Linked DNA regions of Homo sapiens: region 1 is linked to region 2. The links are contacts of gene promoters, found by promoter capture Hi-C in blood cells and fetal thymus (Javierre and others, 2016). All regions are on one chromosome and are shown on one strand. Each heading gives the region's core, a stretch centred on a gene start or on the middle of the fragment in contact. The rest is flanking DNA. Distances are from core to core; before and after follow the strand shown.

Evidence for each region. Contacts are between HindIII fragments. The CHiCAGO score rates a contact against its expected background, and 5 or more counts as called.
Region 1: a contact is called between a fragment that was not itself captured here and the fragment with the promoter of MPPED1 in region 2, in 1 of 17 cell types (neutrophils). The highest score is 7.4, in neutrophils.

Annotation. Positions count from the first base shown.
Region 1 is chr22:44,607,308-44,611,330 of GRCh38, reverse strand. All of the region lies in intron 3 of LINC00229 (long intergenic non-protein coding RNA 229), which reads left to right. Among named protein-coding and RNA genes, the nearest start is that of LINC00229, 16 kb to the left of the region's middle. RefSeq lists an enhancer at 3,423-4,023. The HindIII fragment of the contact is 1,562 bases long and covers 1,948-3,509 here.
Region 2 is chr22:43,409,515-43,413,403 of GRCh38, reverse strand. It overlaps MPPED1 (metallophosphoesterase domain containing 1), which reads right to left and starts at 1,390. Exons shown (of 7, transcript NM_001044370.2): 1 at 1,246-1,390. It overlaps LINC01639 (long intergenic non-protein coding RNA 1639), which reads right to left. Exons shown (of 4, transcript NR_146918.1): 4 at 3,723-3,889. The HindIII fragment of the contact is 9,110 bases long and covers 1-3,889 here.

The DNA of each region.
Region 1 (4,023 bases), core at 1,479-3,978, 1.2 Mb before region 2:
TTTCCCTCTTGTTGCCCAGGCTGGATTGCAATGGCATGATCTTGGCTCACTGCAACCTCTGCCTCCTGGGTTCAAGTGATTCTCCTGCCTCAGCCTCCCAAGTAGCTGGGATTACAGGCATGCGCCACCACGCCCAGCTAATTTTGTGTTTTTAGTAGAGACAGGGTTTATCCATGTTGGCCAGGCTGGTCTCGAACTCCTGACCTCAGGTGATCTGCCTGCCTTGGCCTCCCCAAGTGCTGGGATTACAGCCGTGAGCCACCGCGCCTGGCCTGGATGTTCCTGTTTAACCATTGGTGGATGAAGGACATCAGGGCTGTTTCCAGTTTTGGCTATGACAAGTCAAGCTGCTATGAACACTTGTGTACAGGTTTTTGTGCAGATGTTTTATTTCTTTAAGACGAGTGCCCAGGAATGCAATTGCTGGGTCACCCGGTAATTATATGTTTAGTTTTTTTTTTTTTTTTTTTGAGACGGAGTTTTGCTCTTGTTGCCCAGCTGGAGTGCAGTGGCACGATCTCAGCTCACTGCAACCTCTGCCTCTGGGGTTCAAACGATTCTCCTGCCTCAGCCTCCCGAGTAGCTGGGATTACAGGCACGCACCACCATGCCTGGCTAATTTTTTTGTATTTTCAGTAGACAGGGTTTCATCATGTTGGCCAGGCTGGTCTCAAACTCCCAAAGTGCTGGGATTACAGATGTGAGCCACCGCGCTCGGCCTATGTTTAGATTTTTTAAGAAATAGCCAAGCTGTTTTTCCAGTGTGTCTGTCCCAAGACATCCATAGCAGCAGCATATCATGATCCGGGTTCTTCACATCCTTGTGAGTGTCTGGTGTCATTATTTTTCATTTTAGCCATTCTGTTAGGTGTGTGGGAGAGGTGTGATATTGAGTTAGTTACTTCACTTCTCTGAGCTCTATGTCCTCATCATGGGCCGTCTGATACGGCTGTCAGAAATGCTGGTGAAGTAAACACGTGTAAAGAACTTGGAACGATGCCTGCTCTGTTAAGAGGGCTCCTAACACCTTAATAATTATGATCACATTGAACTATACGAAATTGCCAATGTGGGATCACTTTTGGCCCATAAAAACCCTGAGACTTGATACAGCTCCTCCTCATATTGTTATTAAGGATCAAATGCCTGCATGATTCAGAGTGCAGGGCAGACGTGTCCCTCCTGCCTCCGCACCAGCTGGGTGGGCTCCTTGGTCCTCACCTGCAGGGAGGGCTTTGGTGCCCGGTGAGCCACTGGGCTTCCCCAGCAAGCCACAGCTTGTCACCTGAGGTCAGGGCAGAGGAGGAGCTAGAAGATTCATCTGGTCACTGAGTAGAGTAGGCAGGGGGCGGGGGAGAAGAGTGGTTGGGCACTGTGCCAGTGGGTGGCTGGGTGATGGGCGTGGTGGGCAGGGCCTGGGCCAGCTCATACTGTGCCCATGGATGGCTGGGTGATGGACATGGTGGGCAGGGCCTGGACCAGCTCTCTTGAGTCCTGGGTTTTCCTACCTCTGATCTGGGGTGGGGCGTGGTGGCACCAGATCCTTCCTCTTTGAGCTCCACTGTTCCAGTGCCCACTGAGGGGCCGTCACGGGGTGATAGGGGTCGGGATGTGGTGGTACTCTGGACAGCTCCTAGGTGCTGGGCAGATGTGCAAGGGTTTCATTATTATGGACAAGCATTTGGAGAGCAGAGCCCAGCCTCCTGCAAGTGGGGATCTGTTCGGAGGGACAGCCTAAGACCCCCTCGGGGAAGGGCGCTGCCTGCAGAGCTACCAAGATGCTGGAAACCTTGGACTGGCCCGTGCATGAGGGTGATCTGCAGGGCCTGGCTGCTCTCTGCCGAGCCCTTAAGAAGGGATGGGGCCATGCCCAGGCATCTCTGTGTCCCCAGGGGCCCAAGGAAGGGGCTCCGTGAGGTTGGCCAAGCAGCCGAGTCATAAGAAGCTTCATTTATGGGGGACGGTGCTGCTTCCAGAACACACTCTCCTCCATCTCCTTAAGGGCAAACGACCTTATAAGGGAGTCCTGGCACCTTCCCAATTTTTCAGGCTCAAGAGAGGCTCCCTCAATGAGGCAAGCAGAGTCCCTGCCCAGAGCCCCCAACTCCACACCTCCCCAGGATGCAGGCCCAGGAGAGGCCCCCTCGATGAGGCGAGCAGAGTCCCTTCCCGGAGCCCCCCAACTCCACACCTCCCCAGGACGCAGGCCCAGGAGAGGCCACACCCTTGTTTCTCTCCTGCTTCCCCAGCATGGCCTCAAGAATGCGGGAAACAGTTCTGGAGACAGTCAGATGAGTGTCTCACTGGTATCTTCCCCTGCCCAAGGACCCCCGTACCCCACCTATCCCGCCCTCTCCAGGCTGAAGCCTCCAGGGCTGAAAGCCAGGCCACCGGTCTAGCACTTGGGGGGTCCAGGGGCCCCATCATACCCTCCCCTGCTGTCTTGTGGGGAACCAGGGTGGGAGCTGCCCTTGGAAGCAGTCCAGGAGAGGGGACACTCCCTCTGATTGTTATGCAAATTGCTGGGCTTCGCTGATTACCATACATGCATATTAATCCTGCCTGGGCTGGGATGGGACAGGCTGTCTGGGCCTCATGGCAGGCTGCTTCGGGGCTGGTTTGGGAGCAGTTGAAAAGCAAAGGAAAGGAGGCTGCCTCTCTCTGGCCCTGCTTAAGTGAAAGGTAGATGAGGGTTTTGTCTCCAGGGGCCCTGCTGGGTTCAAGGTGCCAGATGCCTGTGGAGCCCCAGGAGGGTGAAGCACTGGCAGGCACACCTGGTGGGCTTGGAGGTGGGGCATAAGGGTATCTGGCCCCAGGGCATCCTTAGCGTGGTGACTAGCGTACCCCGGGAAACAGGCGGATGGAGGGTGAGGGTCAGGGCAGGAGGAGTCCACTGCCGAACTGGAGCCTGGACAGAATGGGCTGGCCTGGAGGGCACCGGCGCTACTCTGCTGCCCAAGTTCCACACCTGGATTCTGATATCAGCAACGCTCTGGAAGGCAGGACAGAGCATCCCCATTCTACAGATGAGAATGCAGAGGCTCAGACAGGGGAAGAGGCTTCCCCGAGGCCACACAGCGGGAGAGGGCCGGCACTGGAGCCCAGGCCTGCCTCACCGAGGGGTCCCCTCAGGTCCGTTCTGTGTCATGGAGTGGGAGGCTGGCCTGACCTGACAGCCAGCAGGTGAGGGCTCAGCTCTGTCTCTCTGAGCTGGGAGAAGTTGTGGTTCCCCTGATATGTGTGGGTTTCCTCCCTGGGAGATGCGCAAATCATCACACCTGCCCACTCGGCCACCGTGAGGGTTAAACGACAGAGCTCTAGGAATATACCTCACTCTAGCTGTTGTTGCTGGTCCTGGGAGCGTAAGTCGGGCGGGGAAGGGAAATGGGGCATCACCAAGGGGTCCTCTAGCAGTGCCTTAGGATCGGGAGAGGCTGCTGTGGCTGGGACCCAGTCTCAGACATCCAGAGCCTTCAGAACTTAGGGGCCCCAAGGAAGTCACTGAAGCTTCGTTTGTGGGGGATGTTGCTGTTTCCAGAACACTCTCCCACCTCCTGGATTCCGTCGGGTGAGGTTTTAAAGTCATACTCACAGGTGCTGGGGGTGAGGATCTCAACCTGTTTAGGGGACCGCATTTGTACCCACACCTCCCTTCCCTGCCGCACCTGACCCTGTGCCCCTTTGCTGTCTAGAACCTTCCTTTCTGCCCCATTTCTGAGGCCCCTTCCCTCTGAATGCCCCTCCCAGGCCTCCTCTTGGCCGTGTGTGTTCGGGGCCTGTCCCGGCTGCCTCCGCTCTTTCTGTGCCTCTCTCTGGGTCAACTCAAATTCTGATGGCTCCTGGTATCTCCACGACCCCGACTCTCTCATCTGAGCCTCTGCCTGTGCCCTCCTGCAACCCCCATGCATCCTCAGCCTTGGCATCCCCCGAGGAAGCCCCGGGCCCCTCAGTTCACCGCAGGCTGAGCCTCCCATCTCCCCTGGGGCTGCCGTTTTAGCTGCCCAGGCCAGGCACTGGGCGCCA
Region 2 (3,889 bases), core at 141-2,640:
TGGTTTAATTTTTTTTTTTTTTTTGCAAAGTCCAGTCAGATTATTGACAGTGCCTGTCTGCCTGACCCGCCCCCGCCCCCCGGCGCCGCAGATCCCTGCTAACAAGTCTCCCAGTGCCATTCAACTCCCGTGAGCCAGCTCCGCCATTCAACAGCCAGCCCACTTTTGTTCCCCCAGTTTAATTTCATAATTGTTTGCCACTTAACAAGCTCTCCTCTGGGCCATTCAATAGAGCAGGGGAAATGGGGAGGGGGAAGGCAAAGAAACTCTGGGAGGGGAGCTGGGAGCCAGGCCAGCCCAGCACTGGGGAAGAGACATCCCAGAGAGGTCAGCTGGACAGGGGTGGGGGCCAGTTCCGGAGTGGAGCCTCCTGACACCAACTGGGCCACCCAGCTTGAGCCCGGAGAGGTGGGAGGGAAAGGAGCAGGGTGAGTTCCGAAGGCCAGGCCGGGGCCTGCCAGACTCCTGGGCACATCAGTGCTCTGAATGACACGCCTCTGGCCCTGCCAGGGTGAAGGGAGACAGCATGAATTCACGCTCCCGTAACATGTCCCAGAACAAACACACAGGAGACAGAACTGCTCCTTAGTTTGGGCATTCCATGATCAACATTCCCTTTGAGGGCTGGGACCTGTCTAGGTAGCCACTGAATCCCCTGGCCGAGCACATAGCAGACAGGAATAAATATGTGTTGAGTGAGTGGATGGATGGATGGATGGATGGATGGATGGATGGGAGGGAGGGATGAATGGATGGAAGGAAATGGATGAAGTTTCCAGCAATACCTAGCAAAAGTGGCCACTCGGCCAGCGTTCGTTCCCTATCTCTTCCCCCCCAAGTGCCAGCAGGGGCTTGGCAGCGCACACAGTAGGCTCTCTACAAGCGGGGGCTGCTATTGTTACCACTATCATCATCACTGGCACTCCACCAGCCCGCTGCTTCCACCAGCTACTCCGCCAGCAGCAGCAGCGACTGGCGAGCAAGGGAAAAGTTTCGCTGACCCCGCGGCCCCAGCCGGAGTCCCGCGCCCTGGCGGAGCCCCCTCCCGCCGCCGCCCGCTAGGCAGGCGGGGCAGCTGGGGTGCCCAGCCCGCTTCCCGCACCCGGCAAAGGCGGCCAAAGTAACTTTGCGGGCGCCCCTGCGCAGCGCCGCGGGCGTCGCCCAGCGCCTGGAGAGGGTCCCGGCCGCGCCCCGCGCCCGGCCTCCCGCCCGCGCCCGCCGCGCCCCGCCCGCCTCCGGTCCTACCTGGCCCCGGGCTCCTCTTCGGCGGCCGCGGCGGCTGCGAGCAGCAGCGCGCACCGAGGGAGGCAGGGGCTCCCGGGAGGGAGGCGCGCAGGGGCGGGGGCTCCTCCGGCGGCGGCCGCCTCGCCGCGCGTCCGAGGCTGCAAGTGGGAGCCAGACTCCTCCTTCGTGGGGCGGGGGGCTCCCCGCGCCCCCTCCGCCGCCCGCCCGCGCGCCGCGAGGCTCCGAGCCTCCTTGGCTCCCCCCGCCCGCCGCCGCCCGCCTCCCCACGCCCGCCCTCCCCGCCTCTCCGCGCCCGGCCGCCGGGAGGGGCGCGCTCGCGGCCTCGGTCCCGGCCCTTGCGCCGCCACCCGCCGGGGCCCCCGCCAGGCCCGCCAGGCCTCGGCCCTCGGCCCCCGCCCGGGCTCGGAGTCCGCATCCCGCTGCGGAGGGACAGGGAGCGCGGCCGCGGGCCTGGACGCGGGAGGAGGAGCGGGGCCCGCGCTGCGGAAAAGGGAGGGGGCCGCCCCACTGCGCCCGGCGCCCCTCTTGGCGCCCGCCCCCAGCCCCGGACCGGGCCGCGCGCGGGCTGGGCAGGGAGCGGGGCGGGGGCGCTCTCACCTCCGGATCCGTGGCCTCCGCAGCGGGCACCGCGTGCAGGGGCGTGCGCGGCTCCTTCCGGGGCGCCGCAGCCTTCGCCCGAGGCCCGGACCCCCTCCTGGGGCCGCCGGGGCACCCTGCTGTGGGCCCCTCCCGCCCGGGGTCTGGAAGGTCCCCCTCCGGAGACGGAGACACTCTGACCCCAGCTCCCAGTCTGAATAGGTCGGGGTCCTCCTCCTGGGCCACCATCTCTTCCACTCGGGAGTCACAGGTCCCCAATCCCGGGCACAGCAGGTAGCCTGCAGCGGCCGGAGCCCCAACGGGATGGGTAAACAAGTCAGGAACTCAGACGGCGCGACACCCAGTGTAAAGAGGCCCTGCCTTGCTGGGAAGAGCAGAGACCATCGCCTTCAGTGTCGGGGGTCACCCTGGGGAGTTTAAGGCCCTGTGGCTTCCAGCCCCTTGCCGCGGGTGGGACGGGGATTCCAGGGCCTTGTATAGTTAGGGTGCAGATCACTCTGGCCTGGGCCTCCCAGACTGAGAGGAAGATGAAAAGGGGCTGTGGCTCCTCAGAGGCCCAAAGCCCCTCAACAAATGCTTGTAGGGTCTCCCTTCACCAACACACACATCACACAATCCCCAAGGACACCCTCTGCGGGCCCCTCAGGCCTATTCTGCCCCTGAGGACTGCTATCTGGTGTGGCTTCCTGGAGGTGGGGACAGCCCAGTTGAATGAGTGTATGCCAGGAGAGAAGGCCTGGAAAAGACATCCAGGCCGAGGGAATGCGGCATGCAAAGGCCTTGGCATGTGAGTTCATTGGGGCTAGAGACAAAGGAAAAGCAAGGGAGGGAAGATGAGGTGGCAAGGCTGGGAGTGAGGGAACAGAAGCCAGATCGGGAAGAGCCTTGGATAGACTTTATCAGGGGCAGTGGGAGCCATAGAGGGTTTTTAAGCAGGGCTGTGACTTGGTCACGTTTATCTTTTTACAGCTTGTTCTGGCACCTCTAAAGACAGAGGTAGAGGGGGAGAGGCTGGGCTATGGAGGGAGAGGATGGAGGCCTGGGGCCCTCAGGCCAGAGATGGGGGGCAAGGGCTGGCCGAGGAGTCCTGAGGCAGTCACCCCCTCCTGCTTCCTTGTCTTTAGACCCCAATTCTCTCTCAGGGAATCCCAAACTCAACCCGGGAGCCTCTTTCTCCTCCTAGGCTACAGGCTTCCTGAGCACCGTGACTTCGAGGGAGGTGAAGGAGAAAACTGTCATGCCTGCCTGGGAAGGCGGCTTGGACTCAGTGTCTCAGCAGACCCCACCTGCCGCCTGCCTGGGACAAAGCCACAGCTTGGCTGTGGCCTCTGGAGATCACAAAGGACAGTGACAAATGTGCCTTCCTGGTCCCTGGGTCGAGAGCAGAGGTTCCTGTGACACTTGTCCTCCAAGGCCAGCTTCCCCACCACCTCCAGTCCTACCAGAACTACCCTCAAGTCCCAGAGCATCATCTCTTACCTTCCCAGGGTACACATTTATTGAGCATCTACCATATTCCTGGCACTCGGCACTTGCTTTGAAGCCAAGCATGAGCTCTCCACCAGAGGGACCTGGTGCTACCTGCACCACCCAGTCCCAGGCGCAGAGCTCTCAGCTTGACCCACACTGTCTTATGTAGCCCTCATGCCTCCCCTGGGCCAGGCTGCATCCCAGAGGTCAGCCTCCCCAGCGCCTAGTGCTGCATCCCACAGGGCCTGGCACTCTGTAGGTGCCCAGGGAATGGTCCCTAAAAGATGAGGGAATGAGGAGTGTGGGATGGGCAGGATAGACCCACTCCTAAAAGAGCAACCATTCTGGCAAACACAGCACACATTCTGCTTTTGGAAAAATTTAATAACACAGTGGCACTTGTTCATGGAGACTAATAGAAACACCACACAATCCCACACTGCTAAACCAGCCAGGAGATGGCTCGTTCTGCTGGAAAACATTTCCTAGGCGCCTACTACGTGCTGGAGGCCAAGGCAGAGAAGGAAGAGAAGGAAGGCACTCTGTCATGGGAGAAGCAGAAGGTCAGCAGATACTC